Regions from separate parts of the Homo sapiens genome. Here region 1 is linked to region 2. The links are contacts of gene promoters, found by promoter capture Hi-C in human tissues and cell types (Jung and others, 2019). All regions are on one chromosome and are shown on one strand. Each heading gives the region's core, a stretch centred on a gene start or on the middle of the fragment in contact. The rest is flanking DNA. Distances are from core to core; before and after follow the strand shown.

Evidence for each region. The method cuts DNA at HindIII sites, captures the fragments that hold promoters and counts their contacts. A contact is called where the count stands out against the background at its distance.
Region 1: the fragment with the promoter of SULT1A2 here is called in contact with the fragment with the promoter of CLN3 in region 2 in 2 of the 25 tissues and cell types used here (mesenchymal stem cells and small bowel).

What each region holds. Positions count from the first base shown.
Region 1 is chr16:28,595,512-28,600,329 of GRCh38, forward strand. SULT1A2 (sulfotransferase family 1A member 2) reads right to left here and starts at 1,539. Exons shown (of 8, transcript NM_001054.4): 1 at 1,486-1,539; 2 at 272-423; 3 at 39-164. The coding sequence starts at 419. RefSeq lists enhancers at 1,477-1,771, 3,405-3,939, 3,940-4,473. The HindIII fragment of the contact is 13,947 bases long and covers 1-4,818 here.
Region 2 is chr16:28,490,387-28,495,309 of GRCh38, forward strand. CLN3 (CLN3 lysosomal/endosomal transmembrane protein, battenin) reads right to left here and starts at 1,688. Exons shown (of 16, transcript NM_001042432.2): 1 at 1,634-1,688; 2 at 1,328-1,449; 3 at 1,096-1,174. The coding sequence starts at 1,373. APOBR (apolipoprotein B receptor) reads left to right here and starts at 4,257. Exons shown (of 4, transcript NM_018690.4): 1 at 4,257-4,352; 2 at 4,713-4,923. The coding sequence starts at 4,296. RefSeq lists enhancers at 1,570-2,359, 1,699-1,898. The HindIII fragment of the contact is 23,586 bases long and covers 1-4,923 here.

The DNA.
Region 1 (4,818 bases), core at 289-2,788, 100 kb after region 2:
GTCTTCCTCCACTCCCCTTGCACCCAGGACACACACACCTGAGGGAATCCCTGGGACTTTGAACTCAAGGAAGGGCACCCGCATGAAGATGGGAGCTCGGTGACACTTTTCCAGGTCACCGCCCTGGTAGATCATGTCCAGAATCTGGCTCACCCAGGTGGTGCCTGGAGAGGGAGGGAGATGGGAGGTGAGCAGGCTGAGGTGAGCATGACCTCGCTGGCCAAGGTGGGGACTGCCACCTGGGAGAGGGTGGGTGGCCCTCCTCACCTACCGGACTTGGGGTAGGTGCTGATGAGCAGGTCATCAGGCCGGGCCTGGAAGCTCTGCAGGGGCCCCAGTGCCTCTGCAAAGTACTTGATGAGCGGGACCCCCTTCACGTACTCCAGTGGCGGGCGAGAGATGTCCTGGATCAGCTCCATGTTCCTGCGTCAGGGGCCAGAGCCAGGCCCGTTCCCTTACCACCATCACAACAGCAAGAAAGTGGAATTCTTGCTTTCAGGGAAGTCACTGAGGCCTAGGGAGGCTGAGTGACTTGCCCGCACTCACAAGGCCAGTCAGTGGCGGGGCTGGGGCTGAAAACCAGGTCGGGCTCTAATGTGGTGGTTCCCCAGCCTGGCCTCACCTTTCATTCACCTGCGGAGCTGTTCAAAATCCCAGGGCCTGGGCCATGGTGCAGACCAGTGAAAGCACCCTCGTGGCGCGGGGCCCAGATGTCAGGGTGTGTGAAGGTCTCCAGGAGAGTCCAGCTGCACTGAGGAACCTCTAGGACCTTCCTGTGCTGTCTTCCTGCCAGCCAGCGCCCTTTGTCTCACCATTTCCTGCTGGGACCCCCAGCCTCCACCCAGTAGGCTCCTCTCCCCGATGTTCCCCTCCTTGAGCCCCTCGGCCCCTCACATGTGGCAACTCCTAGGCTGGCCAGGCCTGTGATCCACTTGCCCGGCCACAGTCCATCTGGGCTCCAGGACAAACAGCCCATTGAGCAACTGAGCTGGTATTGGGGGCCAGAGCCTGATGTGGGAATGAGCAAAACTGTGATGACTCAGCAAAAGGAGGATCCTGGGCAGGGTGGCTCCCACCTGTAATCCCAGACCCTAGGGAGGCTGAGGCCAGAATTTGGAGACCAATCTGGGCAGCATTGGAAGACCCCATCTCTAAAAATCTTTTAAAAATATTTTTTAAAACTATCCAGGCAGGATGGTGAGGGTCTGTAGTCCTAGCTACTGAGGCAGGAGAATCACTTGAGCCCAGGAATTCAAGGCTGCAGTGGCCAGGATCCCACAGCACTCCAGCCTCGGTGACAGCAAGACCTGGCCTCCCCGGAAAAAAAAAAAAGGAAGGGAGGGGGATTCAGGCCGGCCGGGGTTGTCTGAAATGGGATATCCATGGGGAGAGGGCAGGGATAGCAGAGGCCTCGGCTTCTGGAATGTTGGAGCCACAAGCTGAGCAGGGTGAGGGCGTCCTGGGCCATTCCGGTGTGTCACTCACCTGAGCTCTTGGGAACCTGGCCTTGTGCCCTCCTCGCCCGCAGTGGCTGAGTGTGGGTGTTGTGTGGGGAATGCAGGGGTGTTGTCTGTGCTGAGGGTTTCTTAGGTCAGTGTGGGAGGGATCTGGAGCCGGGGCTGGACTTAGATTTGCTTCCGGAAGGAAGGGGTAGGGTTGGGGGTGGGGGAGCTTCTCTATTACCCTCCTTAGTTTGCCAGCTGGAGACAAGCTTAAAGTGATCTCCAAAGCCACGACTGGGTTTGGTGTGTAGAAAACAGAAGAATGAAAGGGGAAAGGGCCCAATGGTGGGTTTGTTTTTGTGGGTTTTTTTTTTTGAGCTGTCACTGGGCTCCTGACCTGCCCCTGAACTCCAAAAGACAAGCTTTCTCTAATTGACCCAGGCAAGAGAGGGGAGGGATTGGAGGAGAAAGATGGGATAGGCAGGCCCTGGAAAGGTCACCTACCTGCTGGCTCCAGGCCAGTCTTGAAGGTGCCAGGGGTCCTGGCCCAGTGCAACCCACAGGCCTCCAGCAGCCCATGCACTCCAGGCTCTGACCACAAGGCCAGTCTGGAGTGATGCGTGTGGGCAGAGTGAAGGGGCAGGGGTGGAGCAGAGCATGGATCCATAGAACAAGAAAGAACAAGGACACTGCAGTCCCATTGCCCTGGGAGCCAGCCCCAGCTTCATGGCTCCCTGGGGACCTCACAGAACATCGATAGAAGATCCTAGAAGAACCACAGCCCCTGGCAGGTACTTTTCTTTCCATGGGTTTGAAGGAGGCTCCACAGACAGAGGCCAGAGGAGGTTGAGGCTTGGAAGCCACAGGGCCCCGTGGAAGGAGTGCATCCCCCCACCCTCCTCGTTCTTTGTCCTCACTATTTAAAGTCCAGGGTCAAGCTGGGCACGAGACAGGTAAACAACCATCTGAGTAAAGGTGAGTCTCCCAAGCCTTCCCAGGGTTGCGTGAGCTCAGAGGCAAGCGGGGAAAACTGAGGCATGGGATTTCCAGGCAGAGGAGAGGCTGCTCCCCTGCTAGGGCCACAGGCCCCTCCTCCCTCCTCTGTGCCCCTGAGGAATCCCCATGACTGGCAGGTCCTCCGGCTACTAGCTCCACCCCTGCCCTCAGCAACCTTCAGGAGGCCCTCTTGACTGAGACTTTGTATTGCACTCTAGTGAAAACCAGCCGGACCAGCAGGGGGTGGCACAGAAAAGAGGCGAGAATGTGAGATTAATAGAGTGCTAGCAAGACAACAGAAAATCCCAGGCAGCAGTTTCACATGACCAGAAGAAGGAAACTTGAAATAGCTGCATGTGCCAAGGGCCAATAAGTCCCTGAAAAATAGGATGAGGACCAAGCTGGCTGCGACCAACCAGAAGCAACATGGCGCTGTATTTGATGTAGGTTTCACCTAGGATCTCACTGTACAATCAGTAACATATGAAACCGTACACCCACCAGTGCCAAGACGGCTCCAGGAACACCTGTATTTGGGTGTAAATTGTGGCACCACGGTCTTGAGAAATCTTTACCTTTTCCTGGAATCTTCATGAATATACCCCTCTTTAGTTGAAGAAGCCCATAAAGGTCAGCCCCACACCTTGTAGGGCATGAGACACTCTCTTGAGGACCCCCACGTTCCTCTTCTTCAGTGAGTCCCTTTACTCTGCAGGAAATCTGCCTACGTTCATGACTTTTGCACTTGTCCTTAAATTGTTTCTGGCTAAGGTGCCAAGAGCCTGGAGAAGGCCTGGCACGGTGGCTCACTCCTGTAATCCCAGCACTTTGGGAGGCCGAGGCAGGCAGACCACCTGAAGTCGGGAGTTTGAGACCAGCCTGACCAACATGGAGAAACCTTGTCTCTACTAAAAATAGAAAATTAGTCAAGCCTGGTGGCACACGCCTGTAATCCCAGCTACTTGGGAGGCTGAGGCAGGAGAATCGCTTGAACCCGGGAGGCGGAGGTTGCGGTGAGCCAAGATCACGCCATTGCACTCCAGCCTGGGCAACAAGAGTGAAACTCGGTCTCAAAAAAACAAAACAAAACAAAAAAAAGCGTGGAAACGGGCTGAGGTCGATGTCCCACCGGTCTTTGATGACCTCCCCTAGGCCACCAGTATCTGGAGGGGATTAGGGACACTGAGCTCCAGCAGGGCTATCCAGTGTGCCTGCAGAAACAAGGTTGGTCACAGGCAGCCCAGGACAGGGAGTGGGGTAGGGAGGCTGGGGCCAAAGCCCACTCACGTCTTCTAATTCCGAGTCTTCCACTATTTCCCCCGTGCTCATCCATCACAGCCAGATCAGGTCACCCAAAGCAGTGACGCCTCACAGCTACCAAGGCATGGGGCCAGAGAGAGAGACAGAGTCAGGCATCACAAGCCCCCTCCAGGCTCAGCCCTGAATACCAAGATCAGGACACGGCTGCCCCGGCCTGGATTGCACAACTGGGCACCCTCTTCCCAAAGCTGGACCAGGCTGGGGCCGGGGGACTGCACTCAGCTAGGGCATTGGCCCTCTAGGGGCAGAAGCTGCCCTGGTTCTTCCGGAAGGAACTCCTCTCACAGGCAGATCACGTGGGCTCTTAGCCAACAGCCAGGGTTGGGGCAACACAAGGGCCCCGCTTCATCCTGTCCCAGGCAGCAGGCAGGTAAGAGACAAGGAGGGAGAGGCAGCTGGCAGCAACCCCTCTATGCAGCAGGCACTGTTCCGGGCATTACACAGCTCCATCCCGTGAGGCAGAGGTGACTGTTATTTGCATCTTACAGATGAGGAAATGGAGGTGGGGGTTTAAAATCCTTGCCCCTGGGACTAAGCTGGTGCAGGTCCTGGGAGCATCAGCAGTGATTGATTGAGTCACAGCCTCACCACTGCAGCCAGACCTGAACTTCCTCACAGCTCAGCAACACCCAGCAGGTCACTGAATGTCCCCAGGGCAAGTCCTCTACTCACTCACTATTAGCGGGTGCTCAGTAGAAGGCACCCGTTTTCCATTATTTTATTAACTATTTCTTGGCTATCGTCTCTGTGCAGGACTTTGTTCTACAGCAGTGACAAGAGCTGCCCTCGGGCAATGTAGTGCAAAGGTTGGGGTGGGAGAGACTAACGAGAGTCATAAAGCACCTAGCCGGTGAGATAGTAAGTATTCAGGTAAAGAAGCAGACGGGGAAGTACACAAGAGGTGCAATTTTATTTTATATTTTTAGAGACAGTTTCTTGCTCTTTTGCCCAGGCTATAGTGCAGTGGAGCGATCAGAGCTCACTGCAGCCTCCAACTCCTGGGACCAAGCGATCCTCCCACCTCAGCCTCCCCCCGTAGCTGGGACTACAGGCATATGCC
Region 2 (4,923 bases), core at 438-2,937:
TGAGCCGAGATTGTGCCACTGCTCTCCAGCCTGGGTGATAGAGTGAGACTCTGTCTCAAAAATAAAATAAAATTAAAAAAAAAAAAAAAAAAAGCTGGGCGCGGTGGCTCACACCTGTAATCCCAGCACTTTGGGAGGCCGAGGCGGGCGGATCACGAGGTCAGGAGATCGAGACCATCCTGGATAACGCGGTGAAACCCCATCTCTACTAAAAATACAAAAAAATAGCCGGGCGTGGTGGCAGGCGCCTGTAGTCTCAGCTACTCCGGAGGCTGAGGCAAAAGAATGGTGTGAACCTGGGAGGCGGAGTTTGCAGTGAGCCGAGATTGCGCCACTGCACTCCAGCCTGGAGGACAGAGAGAGACTCCGTCTCAAAAAAAAAAAAAAAAAAAAAGGTTCAGGCCCGGCATGGTGGCTCATGCTTGTAATCTCAGCACTTTGGAAGGTTGAGGTAGGAGGATCACTTGAGGCCACGAGTTTGAGACCAGCCCAGGTCCCATAGTGAGACCCCCATCTCTATAAAAAAATATAAAAATTAGGCAGATGCGGTGGTGCACACCTGTAGCCACACCTACTTGGAGGCTGAGGTGGGAGAATCACTTGAGCCCAGGAGTTCCAGGCTGCAGGGAGCTGTGATTGCACTACTGCATTCCAACCTGGGAAACAGAGCAAGACCCTGTCTCAAAAAGAAAAAAAAATAAGATAAAATAAAATAAATTAAAAAAATAAAAAAGTTTTAGTAGTGATGCATTTATTTAAACGTTCACTAGGAAAACGCTGGTTTTCCAAGTGGAGTCGTGATTTAAAGTTTTCTTTTTAAAAATATGTGCACTAAAAAACGTTAAGGCTGAATTGGCTGGAAGAAAAAAGTAAATAATCCTACAGGTGGTAGGTATGAGGATCTTGCTAAATCCGGAAGGTGATAAGGAGTGAAGTTTGGAAATTTTACATGCTGCCCCTGGGGCAAACCAGTGGATTCAGTAAATATTTGTGGGTTCAGCTCCTTTGCGCAGCTTAACTCTTTCTTCCCCCTTTCCTCCGGTCACTTCCCTCTTCTCATGCCATTGTCACTCGCTGAAGTCTCAGGCCACTCACCAGAAGCCCACCGCGTTCTTCCAATGCGCGCCCTGATGGTCCAACAGAGGGAGCCGGGGCTCCGGGACGGTCTCCTCCCCTGGGAGAGCGAGAAGAGGGCATGACCCCCACCTACTCTCAGGTGCACGACCGCTCCTTGCGTGTCCTCCCGGGGCCGAGTCAGCTCTCATTCCCCTCAGGTGGGCTGCGAGCCAGAGGTGGTCGTTCCATGAGGGTGGGCGGGAATACTCACCCTCGGAATCCGAAAAGCGCCGCCGCGAGCCTGCACAGCCTCCCATCGCATCAAGTTCAGGTCCCCCGAGGGTCCAGGGTCATAGAGTGTCCAAAGGGGGCTCCCACGGGAGGGATGAGGGTCTGCGACAGGTGACAAGGATCAACGCCCGATTGCCGGTCCCAGCTCCGGCTTGTCTAGGGCACTCGCGCCCCGCGATCCATCAAGGAAGCTGGGGGCTCCATCTCGAGCGCCCTACGACCCACCACGCCCCACCCATCGTACTCTCCCCCGCCCCGTCTACAGCAGGGACCCTGAGGCCTGTACCTTTAAGAGCAGCAGAATGTTCTGCACTATGCAGAGGCCGTTTGTCGGATCACGTGACAGCACCCGCGTGTTCCCCCATCACGTGCTCAGAGGTTTTCCCTACTTCCGGGTCCTCTCTGTCTTCGCTTTGGGCCTTCTCGGCTTCGGAGCGTGAAAAAGGGAGGGGCTGGAGAACCCTGGAACCGCAGGTTTTAAACTGGAGCGGGTGGGAGCAGCAAGCAGAGCCGTGACCTTAGATCAGTGGCGCCCAAGACCGAGACAGTAGCCTGCCAGCACCAGTTATGACTGTGGGAGGCTTCAGCTCCTTTCCTTCAGCACTCACTTGCCAGAAACAAATATGGCCACCTGCCTACTCCCTTTTTTTTTTTTTTTTTTTTGAGGCAGGACTGTTTCTGGTTGCGAACAAAGACGACCAGCTTCAGGTCATTCTTATCCCCATCTGTTGACCTTACAAATTGTTTTAGAGACCTAAGTAAACATAACACTCATCTAAAGGGATTTCGTGAATGATCTATTGGCAGTATCCAAGATGTTAAGAGATCCCTATTTCCAAATTATCCTAGAACCAAAAAATATCACAGCACTTCAACCCCTGGTGTTACAGATGAGAAAACCAAGGTACAAATATATATATATATATATATAACAAAATTAGCCGGGCATGGTGGCGCATTCCTGTAGTCACAGGTACCTTGGAAGCTGAGGTGGGAGGATCACTTGTGCCCAGGAGGTTGAAGCTACAGTGAGCTATGATCACGCCACTGCACTCCAGCCTGGGTGACAGAGTGAGATCCTGTCTCAAAAAAAGAAAAAGTAAAAAATAAAATAAAAAAAATATATGTATATGAAAAAAATTGGAAAGTTGCTGACAATCATTCATACAATGTTAGACCTAAAGGTGACCTTAGAGACCTGTATGGTGATAAGAAATAGAGCACCAGAGGCAGGGAGCCATTGGGTTGGCTCCAGGCTGCTGCAGGATTCCTGCCTCCATCAAAGGTGGTGCTTAGACCAGATTTTTTTTTTTTTTTTGACAGGGTTTTGCTCTGTTGCCCAGGCTGGAGTGCAGTGGCAGGATCTTGGTTTGCTGCAACCTTGACCTCCCAGGCTCAGGTGATCCTCCCACCTCAGCCTCCCGAGTAGCTGGGACAGCAGGTGCGCACCACTGTGCCCAGCTAATTTTTGTGTTTTTTGTAGAGACTGGATTTTGCCACGTTGCCCAGGGTGGCCTCAAACTCCTGAGCTCAAGCAATCCACCTGCCTTGGCTTCCCAAAGTGCTAGGACTACAGGCGTGAGCCACTGCACCTGGCCAGACTAAATGATTTTAAGGCCTAAGATTCTGATGCTGTGATTTCATAGAATTGCCCTAATTGGAATAGGAAAGTGGGGCTGGGGAGGGGAGAAGGAGGGTATGGGGAAGAGAAGTAGAGCAAGGTCACTTTATGTAGTTCCAAATAAGGAATCATACCCTTACCTTCTTCTAGGTGGAAAGCGGCATCCTGCATTCTCTTCTTGTCCTTGGCCTCATCTCTGCTATGGGCTGTGCCACCTCTATATGCTCTTTCTCACCACCAGGCCTTCAGAATGCAGTTGGAAATGTGCCCTCTCGTCTGGGTGTGGTGGCTCATGCCTGTCATCCCAGCACTTTGGGAGGCCAAGGTGGGCAGATCACCTGAGGTCAGGAGTTCGAAACCAGCCTGGCTAACATGGTGAAACCCTGTCTCTACTAAAGATACAAAAATTAACCAGGTGTGGTGGCACGCACCTGTAATCCCAGCTACTCGGGAGGCTGAGGCAGGAGAATCACTTGAACCCAGGAGGCAGAGGTTGCAGTGAGCTGAGACTGCGCCACTACACTCCAGCCTGGGTGACAGAGTGAGACTGTCTCAAAAAAAAAAAGAAAAGAAAAGAAAAGAAATGTGCCCTCTCTAGTGTGCCTCCCAGGTCACTCAGCTGATGGAAAATGGAATCCTACTAACGTGCAGGGCTCTAGAAATTCAGCAGCGTTTCATACATGGCATCTGCCATCAAGGAAGTCACAGGAAGGTGGGAGGCAGACACAGATATCCACAATATAAAGTTTAGCCAAGTTCTTTTTTGCAAGCCTAATCATAGGTGAGGGGATGCACCCCAGAGCCACCAATCCGGCCCCTTCCGCCCCTGGGGGAAGCATTAATGACGCCGAAATGTGTCAGAGCTCCCACCAGCCCCCTCTTCACTGCTACTCTTTCTTCCCAGGCAAAACAGGAACCACAAACCCCAGCTTCCTCTTGCAGAGTGGCTGTGGCTTGTAGGGGAGGCAGAAATGGCTGAGGTGCGGATACGAGACCTGAGTCACTTGAGCTGCTGTTGCCACATGTCCCCTCCCTCTCCCCCTCCCCAGTTCTAAGGTCTCCTGCTCCCACTTTGTCCTTTCTGGCCTCTTGCTTGTCCTTTATTTCCAAATGTGCACCTGAGTCCCCTGTGTGATGTACACCCATTTCCCGGGCTGCAGTGGGGGCTACTGTGGGCATCAGGGGCCGTGGGCAGGGCCTGGGGTGGGGACGCATCAGGGAGACAGGGGAAGAGGAAGTGCCTTTGGTCCTGGGGAAGGTTGGCTTGTCTTGGTGGGTGGGGACGGTCATTATCAGCTTTCTGGACACACAGACAGAGACAGACAGGATGGACTTCCTCCGGCTATACCTCCCTGGGCTGCACCAGGCCTTGAGGGGGGCACTGGTGAGAAGGGCAGACAGCTGCCAGATACTTGCACCCCATTCCCTGGGGCCTCACTTCCGGGCACCTCCCCTGGGGCCTCACCTTTCCCCTCCTCCTTCTGATCTCCTCAAACTGGAGATTGCTTTCTCAGGTTCAGGCAGACTCCTGGCCTAATATTTTCTGAATTTCAGTCCCCACCTCCAACCATGCGTCCTCGTACCCCTAATCGATGCCCCTTCTGGCTCCTTCTGCAAATCCTCTTCTTCTCCTTTCAGATCCCAGTACCCTCTTCCTTAACCTGGGCTCCTCCAGCCAGGGCCCCCAGGGAAAGGGCTGGGACTCTCCTCAATGACTCTCCCCTCTCTCTCTCTTTTTTCCTAGGATTCCCTCGGCACCTTTGTCTCCTACCTCCTGGGAGATGCAGTCCCCACTGTAGAGCGGGAGGCGCAGGCGGCTGAGGAACTGGGGGTGGTGGCGGTGGGAAAGACAGGGAAGATTGTAGAGGAGGAAGCCCAGGAGGACCTGGAGGGCCTTAGAGGCAGCCAAAACGAGGGGGCTGGAAGGCTGAGAGGGCCTGGAGATGACAGAAGAC